Regions from separate parts of the Homo sapiens genome. Here regions 2 and 3 are each linked to region 1. The links are contacts of gene promoters, found by promoter capture Hi-C in blood cells and fetal thymus (Javierre and others, 2016). All regions are on one chromosome and are shown on one strand. Each heading gives the region's core, a stretch centred on a gene start or on the middle of the fragment in contact. The rest is flanking DNA. Distances are from core to core; before and after follow the strand shown.

Region 1 (3,530 bases), core at 817-3,316:
TATATGTGATCCTTTGACAAGCTTCAATGTGACTGGTTACATTCATTCTTGTCATCTTTCCAGGGAGACAACTCAAGCTTAGAAGCCTTACCCAAAACCCACAGTTGTTTTCCTGCACCACCCCTCTCCTTCCATTAGTTTCCCCTCCTCCCATAGCATTCTGGGTCCTTACCAATCTCTACCTTTGGCACTGGGATGCTTTCCCCACCCCAGACCTTCACGTGACTCATTTTCATCCTTGCAGCCCATAGGGTCTTACTAACTAAAGTGGCCTCTCCCAGTTACTTCTTTCTAAGCACATACTACAATTTATAATTAACCTTTTTACTTATTTTTCTAGTTAATTGTCTTTCCCATCAGGATATCCCATGAAGGCTCTCTCCTCACCATTGTCTCTACAACACCTCCTTTTCCATCATTACCAAAACCGCACTGGAAATACTGTCATTCCTACCACCTCCCACCAACTGTAAGTTCATCAAGGCTAAGTGCTGTCTTACTCATGTTTCCCCAGCACTTGGTAAAGTCCCTGGCACTATCCTATGAAGTCAGTAAAAATCTGTAAAATAAATGAGCTTACTAAACAGGGATGACTACTACTAAGGAAGCAGAGAACAACAACACGTTAACATTTAATAGTACAGGGCAATGTTGCAGGTTGTACACACAAAAATTGGAGTGGTACAATCCACGGAAAAGATTAGTAAGGACAAAATTCCATTCAGAGAGATGAGGTGCTTCTGCCTCGGCAGAGAGAGGGAAGAAAAGCAATCAAGCAAGCTAACTTTTATTCTACTCCGGACCAACAGAGCAAATTGCCCCCCAAAATTATTATTTTAGAACGCCGCAATTTATTCAGCATACTGGACTACTTATTAGACTCCAAGTACCAACATGCCACGATTATTTTGCATTTTCTAAGGTACAACAGATAAGGAGCTGATGGGTGCCTCTGAAACCTGACAGAACAAACATTGGAAGCAGAAATAATAATGGCCAATATTTGTATTTGTAAAAGACTTGAAAACATACAGAAAAATCTCGGAGTGGTCATGGAGACTAAACTAAACACACCCATAAATATGTAATCATAGGTTAGGACCCACCAAGGCACAGAAATGATCATACGACTGCCAAAAGAGGCCACACTCTACATCCCTCTTCCCATCCTCTTCTACTCAAAGAGTCAGCCTTATTCTCGGTAGCACAATCCTCTCAAAGAAATACAGAAAAGACGAAAGAACGGCTTAAACGTAAAAAAAAAAAAAGCAAAAACCAAACAACCAACCGGCTCCGCAATCCCTAATCAGAAAGCTCTAGACGCCTTTCGAAGCCAACTGTCATACCTTTTAGGAGCCCAGAAGATGTTAACTCCAAAAATAAGTCTCTGGCCCCAACACACCTCTCTGGATTATTCAGAAAAACCCGGGTTTACCAGTTCGGAGATCTGCACTCCACTCAAAAAAGGATCTCCCGGCAGGGACAAGCAATCAATCCCTCAGGGGGCAGTGGCGCTCCAACCACCCGGCCAGGACACAGGCAACGGCGACAGGGCACAGCCCTTCCAGGGACCCGCCAGGGCCCTCCGGGATCTCAGTAAGGCTCAGAGCAAAACGACCCAGCGGTGGCCAAAGTCGGGCAGTGGCGCAGGGGGGCCAGCGGTCGAGCTTCCGAGCTGGGCCTTCCCGGCCCGGGGGCGCGGCGAGTCACGGAGGTGGCGCCTTTCAGTTTGGACCCGGCTGCTTACAGAGGATCCAGGGCCTCCTTCCCTGACTTCCCCGCCCCGCCGCCCTCAGCCAGCCAGTCAGCCCCTCACCTGGCAGAAGCTCCGGCAGTAGTTCAAAGATGAGACCTCCGACACCTCTTGCTCCCTCAGCTCTGTCTCCAGCTGCCACAGACACGGCCGCAGTCCCGAGGCTCCCGGCGCTGGAGATACGGGGCGATGACCCCGAACCATGGACTCAGTCTCGACTCCATCTCCGGCTCCCGCTACCGCCGGAGCCTCAGCCCCAGCCCCGGCGACAGCGGCGGCGTCTCCCTTTCCGTCCGCCATCTTCCCACGGCCCACCAGCGCGTAGGCAACCAAGCCACGTGACTCAGCCCTGGCCCTGCCCCCGGCCGCCCGCGCACTGTGACGCACTCCTTAGCGACGCGGGCGCCCGCCTGATTCCGTCACTCGGACTCCGGGTGCTCTCAGTGGCCTACGCATCGCCAGTCCTGACAACAGCCTAGCAACAACTGGCTAGAGGCTATGCCCACCTAGACCCCTTTGAGGTCATGGGATCACGGAGCCAGAAATGCCTGTAGAGCAATCTAGATTTGAGGGGGATGACATTTGAACTGCGATCTGAAGGGACAAGAGGAAGGTAGCCCTGAAAGGAACATAGCGAAAAGCATCCCTGGTAGAAGGAAAATAAGCAAAGATTGTGAGGCCGAAATGAAGAGTAACATCAAGGGAACTTGGTTTATGATACAGACGGCATTACAAGTCAGTGGGCGAAAGGACAGACTCTTCAATAAATGGCGATGAGACATTTTTTCCAAAAGGGAAATAAATGATTAGATTTCTACCTCAAACCATTTCCAAAAATAAGGCCGAGATGGATTAAAGACCTGCAAACATTTTTCAGAAAATAAAAATAGCTTTATAATGTCAAAAATAGGGAAGAATTTTTTTTTTTTTTTTTAGACGGAGTCTCACCCTTGTTGCCCAGGCTGGAGTGCAACAGTGCTATCTCAGCTCACCGCAACCTCCGCCTCCTTGGTTCAAACATTCTCCTGCCTCAGCTTCCGGAGCAGCTGGGATTACATGCATGCGCCACCATACCTGGCTAATTTTGTATTTTTAGTAGAGATGGGGTTTCTCCATGTTGGTCAGGCTGGTCTCGAACTCCTGACCTCAGGTGATCCGCCCGCCTCAGCCTCCCAAAGTGCTGGGATTAGAGGCGTGAGCCACCGCGCCCGGCTAAGAATTTCTTAATAAGACCGGAAAAGCACAAACCATAAGGGAAAATATTTAGATTTGACTGTATTAAAATGTGTTACTTCCGTATAACAAGTTGAAAAAGCACACAAAGACAAGCCACAGACTAAATGATATTCCCCATATATATAACCATTGTTTATTGTTGTTGTTTTTTGAGACAGGGTCTCACTCTGTCACCCAGCCTGGAGTGCAGTGGCACGATCTAGGCTCACTGCAACCTCTGCCTCTCAGGTTTAAGTGATTCTCGTGCTTCAGCCTCCCAAAGTAGCTGGCACTATAAGCGTCCGCCACCATGCCTGGCTAATGTTTGTATTTTTAGTAGAGGCGGGGTTTCACTGTGTTGGCCAGGCTGATCTCGAACTCCTGGCCTCAAGTGATCCGCCCGCCTTGGCCTTCCAAAGTGCTGGGATTACAGGCGTGAGCCACCGCGCCCAGCCATAACCATTGTTTTGATTAGTATCCAAAACAGTTCCCGGGCTGGGCGAGGTGGCTCACGCCTGTAATCCCAGCACTTTGGGAGGCCGAGGCGGGCAGATCACGAGGT
Region 2 (3,551 bases), core at 786-3,285, 260 kb before region 1:
GAGTATCAAAAGTTGCAGATTAAAAAAAAAAAAAAGCTGCAGCTATCACGACATTTCATTCCTAAGTCAGGAGGCACCTCATAAGAATGAACACTTTAACAGAACCACAAAACAATGAACACGCTCAAGAATTTTAACATTAACACCATATTCTAATGTACATGGCATTTCATTTTCAGATCTCTGTAGTCTCCTTTAAGCTAGACCAGTTTCCCTAACACTTCCTTCCATTTCTTCCTGACACTGACATTTTTAAGAACCCAGGACAGTTATTTTGTAGCATACCCCTCAATTTGGATTCATCTCATGTTTTCTCATAATTGGATCGAGGTTCAATATTTTTGGCAAGATTCTATGGAGGTGACACATGTCTTTCTTAGTACAAAATATCAGGAAGCATATGACATTACTTTGTTCCTCTGTCAGTAATTTTATGTTTGATCACTTGGCTGAGGTAGTGACTATATTTCTTTCATTATAATTAATAAATAATCTGAAGGGCATTTCTTTGCAAATGTGTCAATCCTTTGCTCTTTTTACAACTACTGTCATTCTTCTGTAAAGAAGGCTTTTCCTCCCTCCATTCCACACCTGGTTTTTAAAAAATATCACCGTGGACTCATGGTTTTGTTTTGTTTTTTCCATTCAGTGTGTCATAATCCATTACTGTTGTTACTCTTTTTGATGTTCAAATTGTCTCACATTTGGCCAGTCAGAGCCACTGGAAGTTGGCTCATGCGTCCCTCTGACATATTCCCATCAGACTTATAGCATTCCATTACTTATATAAATAAAAACGAAACAATGAAAATAAGTGAATTAAAATCTCCACTATGAAAGCTAGAAAATAACAAAGTAAACCCATAGAAAGCCTACGGAAATTGAGGTAGAAAACGGAAAAATGTAGCACCAATAAATCGAAATCCTGGTTCTTTGAAAAAAATTAATGAGACTGCTAGGCATAACTTTTGATAAATTTGAAAACCTTGGCGAAATGGAAAATCTAGGTAAATACAGTTTTCCAAAATTGACTTCCATAGAAGAAACAGAGAAAAGTATCAAAGATTTGCTACAAAAAAAGCAATAGTGCCCACAAACTTCACATGGGAATTCCACAAAACCTTCAAAGACCAGAGCTACATAAATTATTCTGGACCACAGAGAAACAAAAACATAAAAGTACTTCTTATAAATAAGTATAACCCTGATAAAGATAGCTATACATGCACATGTGCAGTACACATGCACCATACCACCTCTCTGGGGTTCCTTTGCCTGTCTCTTGGTTTTCACATTAAATCACTTTGTATTTCTTTGTACCTAGTGCAAAACTAGTGTTGCTTTGTTAGCCAATTTGAACATCATTTTCTTTTGATAGAAGAGTTGCCTACTGGTATGACTGGTATGTTTGGTCTCAACTCCATCATATTAGATTTTTACTGTGTTTATTGTATTTGCTGCACTTTGTAGTCTGTTTTTAAAAATTCTCAGCTGGGCGCAGTGGCTCATGCCTGTAATCCCAGCACTTTGGGAGGCCAAGGTGGGTGGATCACCTGAGGTCAGGAGTTTGAGACTAGCCTGGCCAACATGGTGAAACCCCGTCTCTACTAAAAAATACAAAAAAAATTAACCGGGTGTGGTGGCGGGTGCCTGTAATCCCAGCTACTCGGGAGGCTGACGCAGAAGAATCACTTGAACCCAGGAGGCGGAGGTTGCAGTGAGCCGAGATTGTGCCACTGCATTCCAGCCTGGGTGACAGAGTGAGACTTTGTCTCAAAAAAAAAAAAAAAAAAGAAAGGAAGAAAATTATCTTGGTATTCAGAACATTTCACGTGTTTGTTCTAGTGATTACCTTCATAGTAATACTTTTTAGCAATGTCCTTGGTCTCCTTTTTCCTTATTCAAGCTTCCGTGATTTGGTTTGTCAGCTTATTGCATCCTTCGATTTCTACTTCTTTCCCATACAATATTTATTATTCAACTTTTCTCCCTCCTCCTTCATTTTCAGTTGTATTTGTTTGTCAGAATATAATGTATATTCTGCAACGCTTGTCACCACCTTTGTTTTAGTCTTAGATTCTCAATTAAACATTCAATTCTCACCATCAGTTCTTTTGCCAAAAATGAAAATGACCCCAGTCATCTCTTAGGTGGATGAAGCTTATCTTCTGTTAGATTCCCCAGGAAAGTCTTGTAAGTGTGATATTCTCTGAGTTCTTGCATATTTATTTTTTACAGCCTTGATACCTGAAGGATAGCTTGGCTGGCTTGGTTGTAAAATACTTGTTGTGTCTTGCATACACTTGAGTGTCTTTAAAATACTACTCTCCTTGTTATTCTTTTTGTATTTTGCTGCTAGGAAGTCTGATGTCAACCTGGGTATTTTTTGTTTGTTCTAAGTAACAGATTTTTGTGGGTAGGAGGTATGGAAAAGGTTGGACCCCTAAACATTTTGAATGTTCTTTAAAGTCTGTAGATTTGCTGGGATATGTTTTAAAGTTGACTGTTCTGGGTCAATTTTCCCAGACACACAGTGGGCTCTTTCCATATTATATCCAAGTCTTTTATTTCTAGAATGTTTTCTGGTGTTAAACACATTAATACTGTCCCATATTTTATTTATTTTGTCTTTATTTCTTTGGGCATCTCCAAATATATGTAAGTTTTCTTTGCCTAACTTCCATATTAATTTCCATCTAATTCTTTTTACTACTTTCTATATTTAGTTTTCATTCTCTTAGCTGTTTCATGCCTTTCCTCAATGCCGAATATATTTTCAGCTCAATCTATTGTTCTTTAGCTAACTTGTAATTGAGTCTTTATACGAAAATTTTGGCTTTTTCTTCAATTTCTTTTCTGAGTTTAGTAAACTTTCATTTCACAGCATGCAGTTTTTTATCCATTTTGGCTTTAAGTTTTTGAATTTCTGATTTAAGGTGTTTTGTCTTATCTGCAAATGTTTAAGGACATTTAATTCAGATTGGTAGATTGTGTAACAATTTTCTTCTGCTTCATGACTGTTTTTTGAGGGAGAATATTCATTACGTGAAATGTTTTGATTTTCATTTTCTATTTTCTTCCTGTAGTAGTTGTGTACAAATGTCAGCTTCCATGTTTGGTTCATTTTTGTAAGGTCTTATTTTTTCTCAATCAGCAATAATAGGTGTGAAGGTTTGGGGAGGCTTACTAAATTTCTTAGATTAAGAGCACCATCTTTTATTAGTGAAGTGGTTATTTTGGAAGAGGGAAGAAGGTGTATATTTGATTTTGTGATTCTCATTCCCATTTCTCGTGTCTTTCTTTCCTTCACCACCAGTCCTCTAAAGGGTACCTCCTCCTTTTAGGCCATGCCCATCTCCCCGAGAAGCAATGCTTTCCCAAGGTTACTACCTATACTCCTATATATCTGAAGTCTCTTATTTTTGATCCTCCAAGTAAACAGAGTTCTAATCTACCACATCTCAGACCTGTTCTCAGTATGTCTTTGATGAGGGTAGGTCCTTCTCCTTCTGGGGGGTTACTTTATCTGTGGTATTATTGCTAGGCCCCTG
Region 3 (3,267 bases), core at 194-2,693, 350 kb before region 1:
ACCAGCCTGGCTAACATGGTGAAACCCCATCTCTACTAAAAATACAAAAATTAGCCAGGTATGGTGGCACACACCTGTATTCCCAGCTACTCAGGAGGCTGAGGCAGCAGAATTGCTTGAACAGGGAGATGGAAGTTGCAGTGAGCCGAGACTGCACCACTGCACTCCAGCCTGGGTGACAGAGCAAGACTCTGTCTCAAGAAAAAGAAAAAAAAAAAAAAAGGAGATTTGAGGTTTGCCTTTTCTGCTTCAAAATTCTATTGACTTGAAAGAGTATTTCATTATTTTAAGTGAATATACATCTTTGTAAATGTAGGAACAATGTTTGAGAAGTTTACCATGGGCCACTTTCTACAATTTCCTTTATACAAAGTCCTTGACGAGCAAAATGAATCTCAACTACAAACTGTTCCTTGAGAAAAAGGAGCTCTGCAATAACTGTTTTTAAATGCAGTTCAAGGAACCTAGTATGGCAAAATTCAAAGATCAACTATATATAGATACAAATAAATATAGTCTAACACAAATTAATGCATGAAATAATAAGAGGATGTTACAGCGACACATGGAAATTAGTAGCTTGACTTCATAAATTATCCTCTTAATATTATAGAAATTGGTGTCTGTCACTAAACTGGAGTTTCCCATTAAGTTTATTTTCTCCCTCCACAAGAAACTAGCTTATAATGGGAAAAAAATCTGCCTATTACAGCATTATTAAAAACTCAAAATTTACTGCTATAATAGAGAATATTTATTGTGCGGTTATTTTTTGTGTGCCAGACACTGAGCCACGTGTTTTACATCCAATATCTCACTACCCTACTGTGGGATGGGGATGGGTACTGTACTCCTTTTTTCTTTCAACTTTTTACTATAAAGATTTTCAAGGCCGGGTACAGTGGCTAAAGCCTGTAATCTCGGCACTTTGGGAGGCCGAGGCAGGTGGATCACCTGGGGTCGGGAGTTTGAGACCAGCCTGGCCAGCATGGTGAAACTAAAAATACACCTCATGGTGAAACTAAAAATACAAAAAATTAGCCGGGTGTGGTGGCGGGCACCTGTAATCCTAGCTACTCGGGAGGCTGAGGCAGGAAAATCGCTTGAACCTAGGAAGTGGAGGTTGCAGTGAGCTGAGATAACACCACTGCACTCCAGCCTGGGTGACAGAGTGAAGACTCCATCTCAAAAGAAAAAGAAAATTTTCAAACATACAGAGAAGTAGAAAGAATAAAACAACAAACACCCATGTCCACACCATGTAGATGAACAACTGTTGACATTTTGCTGTATTTACTTCTTGTGTGTGTACTTTTTTGTTTTGGCTGAACTATTTTAAAGTAAATTACAGATAGCATAAAACTTTAAAATCTAAATGTTTCAGCATAATTTCCAAATGGCATTCTTCTTCATAACCACAATACTGTCTTCCAAATGACATTCTCCTCATAACTACATTATCACATCTGACAAAATTAGTAATTCCTTAACATTCCAGTTCATATATAAATTTCCCCAACTGTCCTCAAAATGTCCTAGATAGCTTTTCTTTAATCCAGGAAACAAAGACCACACATTATGTTTGATTGTTTTGTCTTTCAAGTATTTTTTAATCTTAAGAAACTGGGCGGCCAAGCGCAGTGGTTCACGCCTGTAATCCCAGCACTTTGGGAGGCCAAGGCGGGCGGATCATGAGGTCAGGAGATCGAGACCATCCTGACTAACACGGTGAAACCTGTCTCTACTAAAAGTACAAAAAATTAGCCGGGCTTGGTGGTGGGTGCCTGTAGTCCGAGCTACTTGGGAGGCTGAGGCAGGAGAATGGCGTGAACCCAGGAGGCGGAGCGTGCAGTGAGCTGAGATCCCACCACTGTGCTCCAGCCTGGGCAACAGAGCGAGACTCCGTCTCAAAAAAAAAAAAGAAAAAAGAAAAAAGAAACTAGGCAAATTATCTTATGAAGATACTCTTTTTAAGCCTTCCTTCTAACCCCACATATCTAACCTGCATAGAGAGTAAGCAAAACAAGATACAACCAGTCCATTAGTGTTTGACTTTGAGTGCCAGGAAAATAAATAATTTGACATAGAATTTTAGCTGATAGAGATAGCTATGAACCAAATGTCCCCTTCTTGCTATTCTAATAAGCAGTGAAATAAGGTGAATGCACCAACTCCTATGTCAAAGCGTAAGAAGTGATGCCCTGAAAACGTCATTAATATCAGTTGTGGTTGTGTTTAACTGATTTTTAAATAGTCTAAATGTCACTAATGAAAGAAAACATAGATAGCTAGAAGAAAAGTTATCTGCAATGAATAAAAATAATACAATAGTAAGACTTTTGCTTATAGAGTATCCTACAACATTATTGCTTTACAGGATATTTCAATAGTAACAAAATACAGAAGCTGTGCATTTACACAAGTGTTATAAACTGTCAATGTGCTTTAAATAATTTCAAGAAACTTTATTTCAACTATGAAGTCTCTGAAAATTGGAAAGAATATTTACCCTTCACCAAGAAACTAAAGTTAAAGGGCATTTATTTTTTCTTTTCTTTTATTTTATTTTTTGAGACAGAGTCTCACTCTTTCACCCAGGCTGGAGTGCAGTGGCGGGATCTCAGCTCACTGCAAGCTCTGCCTCCCGGGTTCACGCCATTCTCCTGCCTCAGCCTCCCGAGTAGCTGGGACTACAGGCACCCGCCACCGCGCCCAGCTAATTTTTGTATTTTTTAGTAGAGACGGGGTTTCATCGTGTTAGCCAGGATGGTCTCGATCTCCTGACCTCGTGATGCACCCGCCTCGGCCTCCCAAAGTGCTGTGATTACAGGCGTGAGCCACCGCACCCAGCCCTAAAGGGCATTTATAACACATATGCTATGAGGTATTTGTGAGGGTGAGGGGGAACTCCAAGTCCAAATCAATAACCTTAAAATATTTTATTTCAAATATCTAGACCTGGCTGTCCAATATGGTAGCCATTAGTAGCCACTAGCCATATGTGGCTACTTAAATTTAATTAAAATAAAATAAAATTCACATCTCAGTTGCACTAGCCATATATTAAGTGCTCAGTAGCTACATCTGGCTGGTGGATACAGATAAGGCACAGATACAGAACATTCCCTGATCACAGAAAGCTCTACTGAACAGCATAGAGTTAGACTATTTCCTGTGTACACATTAACTCCCCAAAGAGAGAGGAAGCTCCTGAAATGTATGGAGTTCCTACTTGTTTTACATACAACATTGAGAACAGGTAGTTCT

The links. Contacts are between HindIII fragments. The CHiCAGO score rates a contact against its expected background, and 5 or more counts as called.
Region 2: a fragment that was not itself captured here is called in contact with the fragment with the promoter of RLF in region 1 in 17 of 17 cell types (total B cells, naive CD4 T cells, total CD8 T cells and 14 more); the score reaches 17.0 in total B cells.
Region 3: a contact is called between a fragment that was not itself captured here and the fragment with the promoter of RLF in region 1, in 2 of 17 cell types (total CD8 T cells and naive CD8 T cells). The highest score is 5.5, in total CD8 T cells.

What each region holds. Positions count from the first base shown.
Region 1 is chr1:40,159,923-40,163,452 of GRCh38, reverse strand. It overlaps RLF (RLF zinc finger), which reads right to left and starts at 2,066. Exons shown (of 8, transcript NM_012421.4): 1 at 1,817-2,066. The coding sequence starts at 2,053. LOC105378671 (a long non-coding RNA gene) reads left to right here and starts at 2,175. Exons shown (of 3, transcript XR_947232.3): 1 at 2,175-2,488. RefSeq lists enhancers at 1,162-1,777, 1,781-2,290, 1,778-2,394 and a silencer at 3,403-3,530. The HindIII fragment of the contact is 5,693 bases long and covers 80-3,530 here.
Region 2 is chr1:40,417,523-40,421,073 of GRCh38, reverse strand. All of the region lies in intron 9 of SMAP2 (small ArfGAP2), which reads right to left. Among named protein-coding and RNA genes, the nearest start is that of ZFP69B-DT, 31 kb to the left of the region's middle. The HindIII fragment of the contact is 254 bases long and covers 1,909-2,162 here.
Region 3 is chr1:40,510,539-40,513,805 of GRCh38, reverse strand. The region is part of intron 3 of EXO5 (exonuclease 5); the gene reads right to left. Among named protein-coding and RNA genes, the nearest start is that of EXO5, 3.4 kb to the right of the region's middle. The HindIII fragment of the contact is 4,712 bases long and covers 1-3,267 here.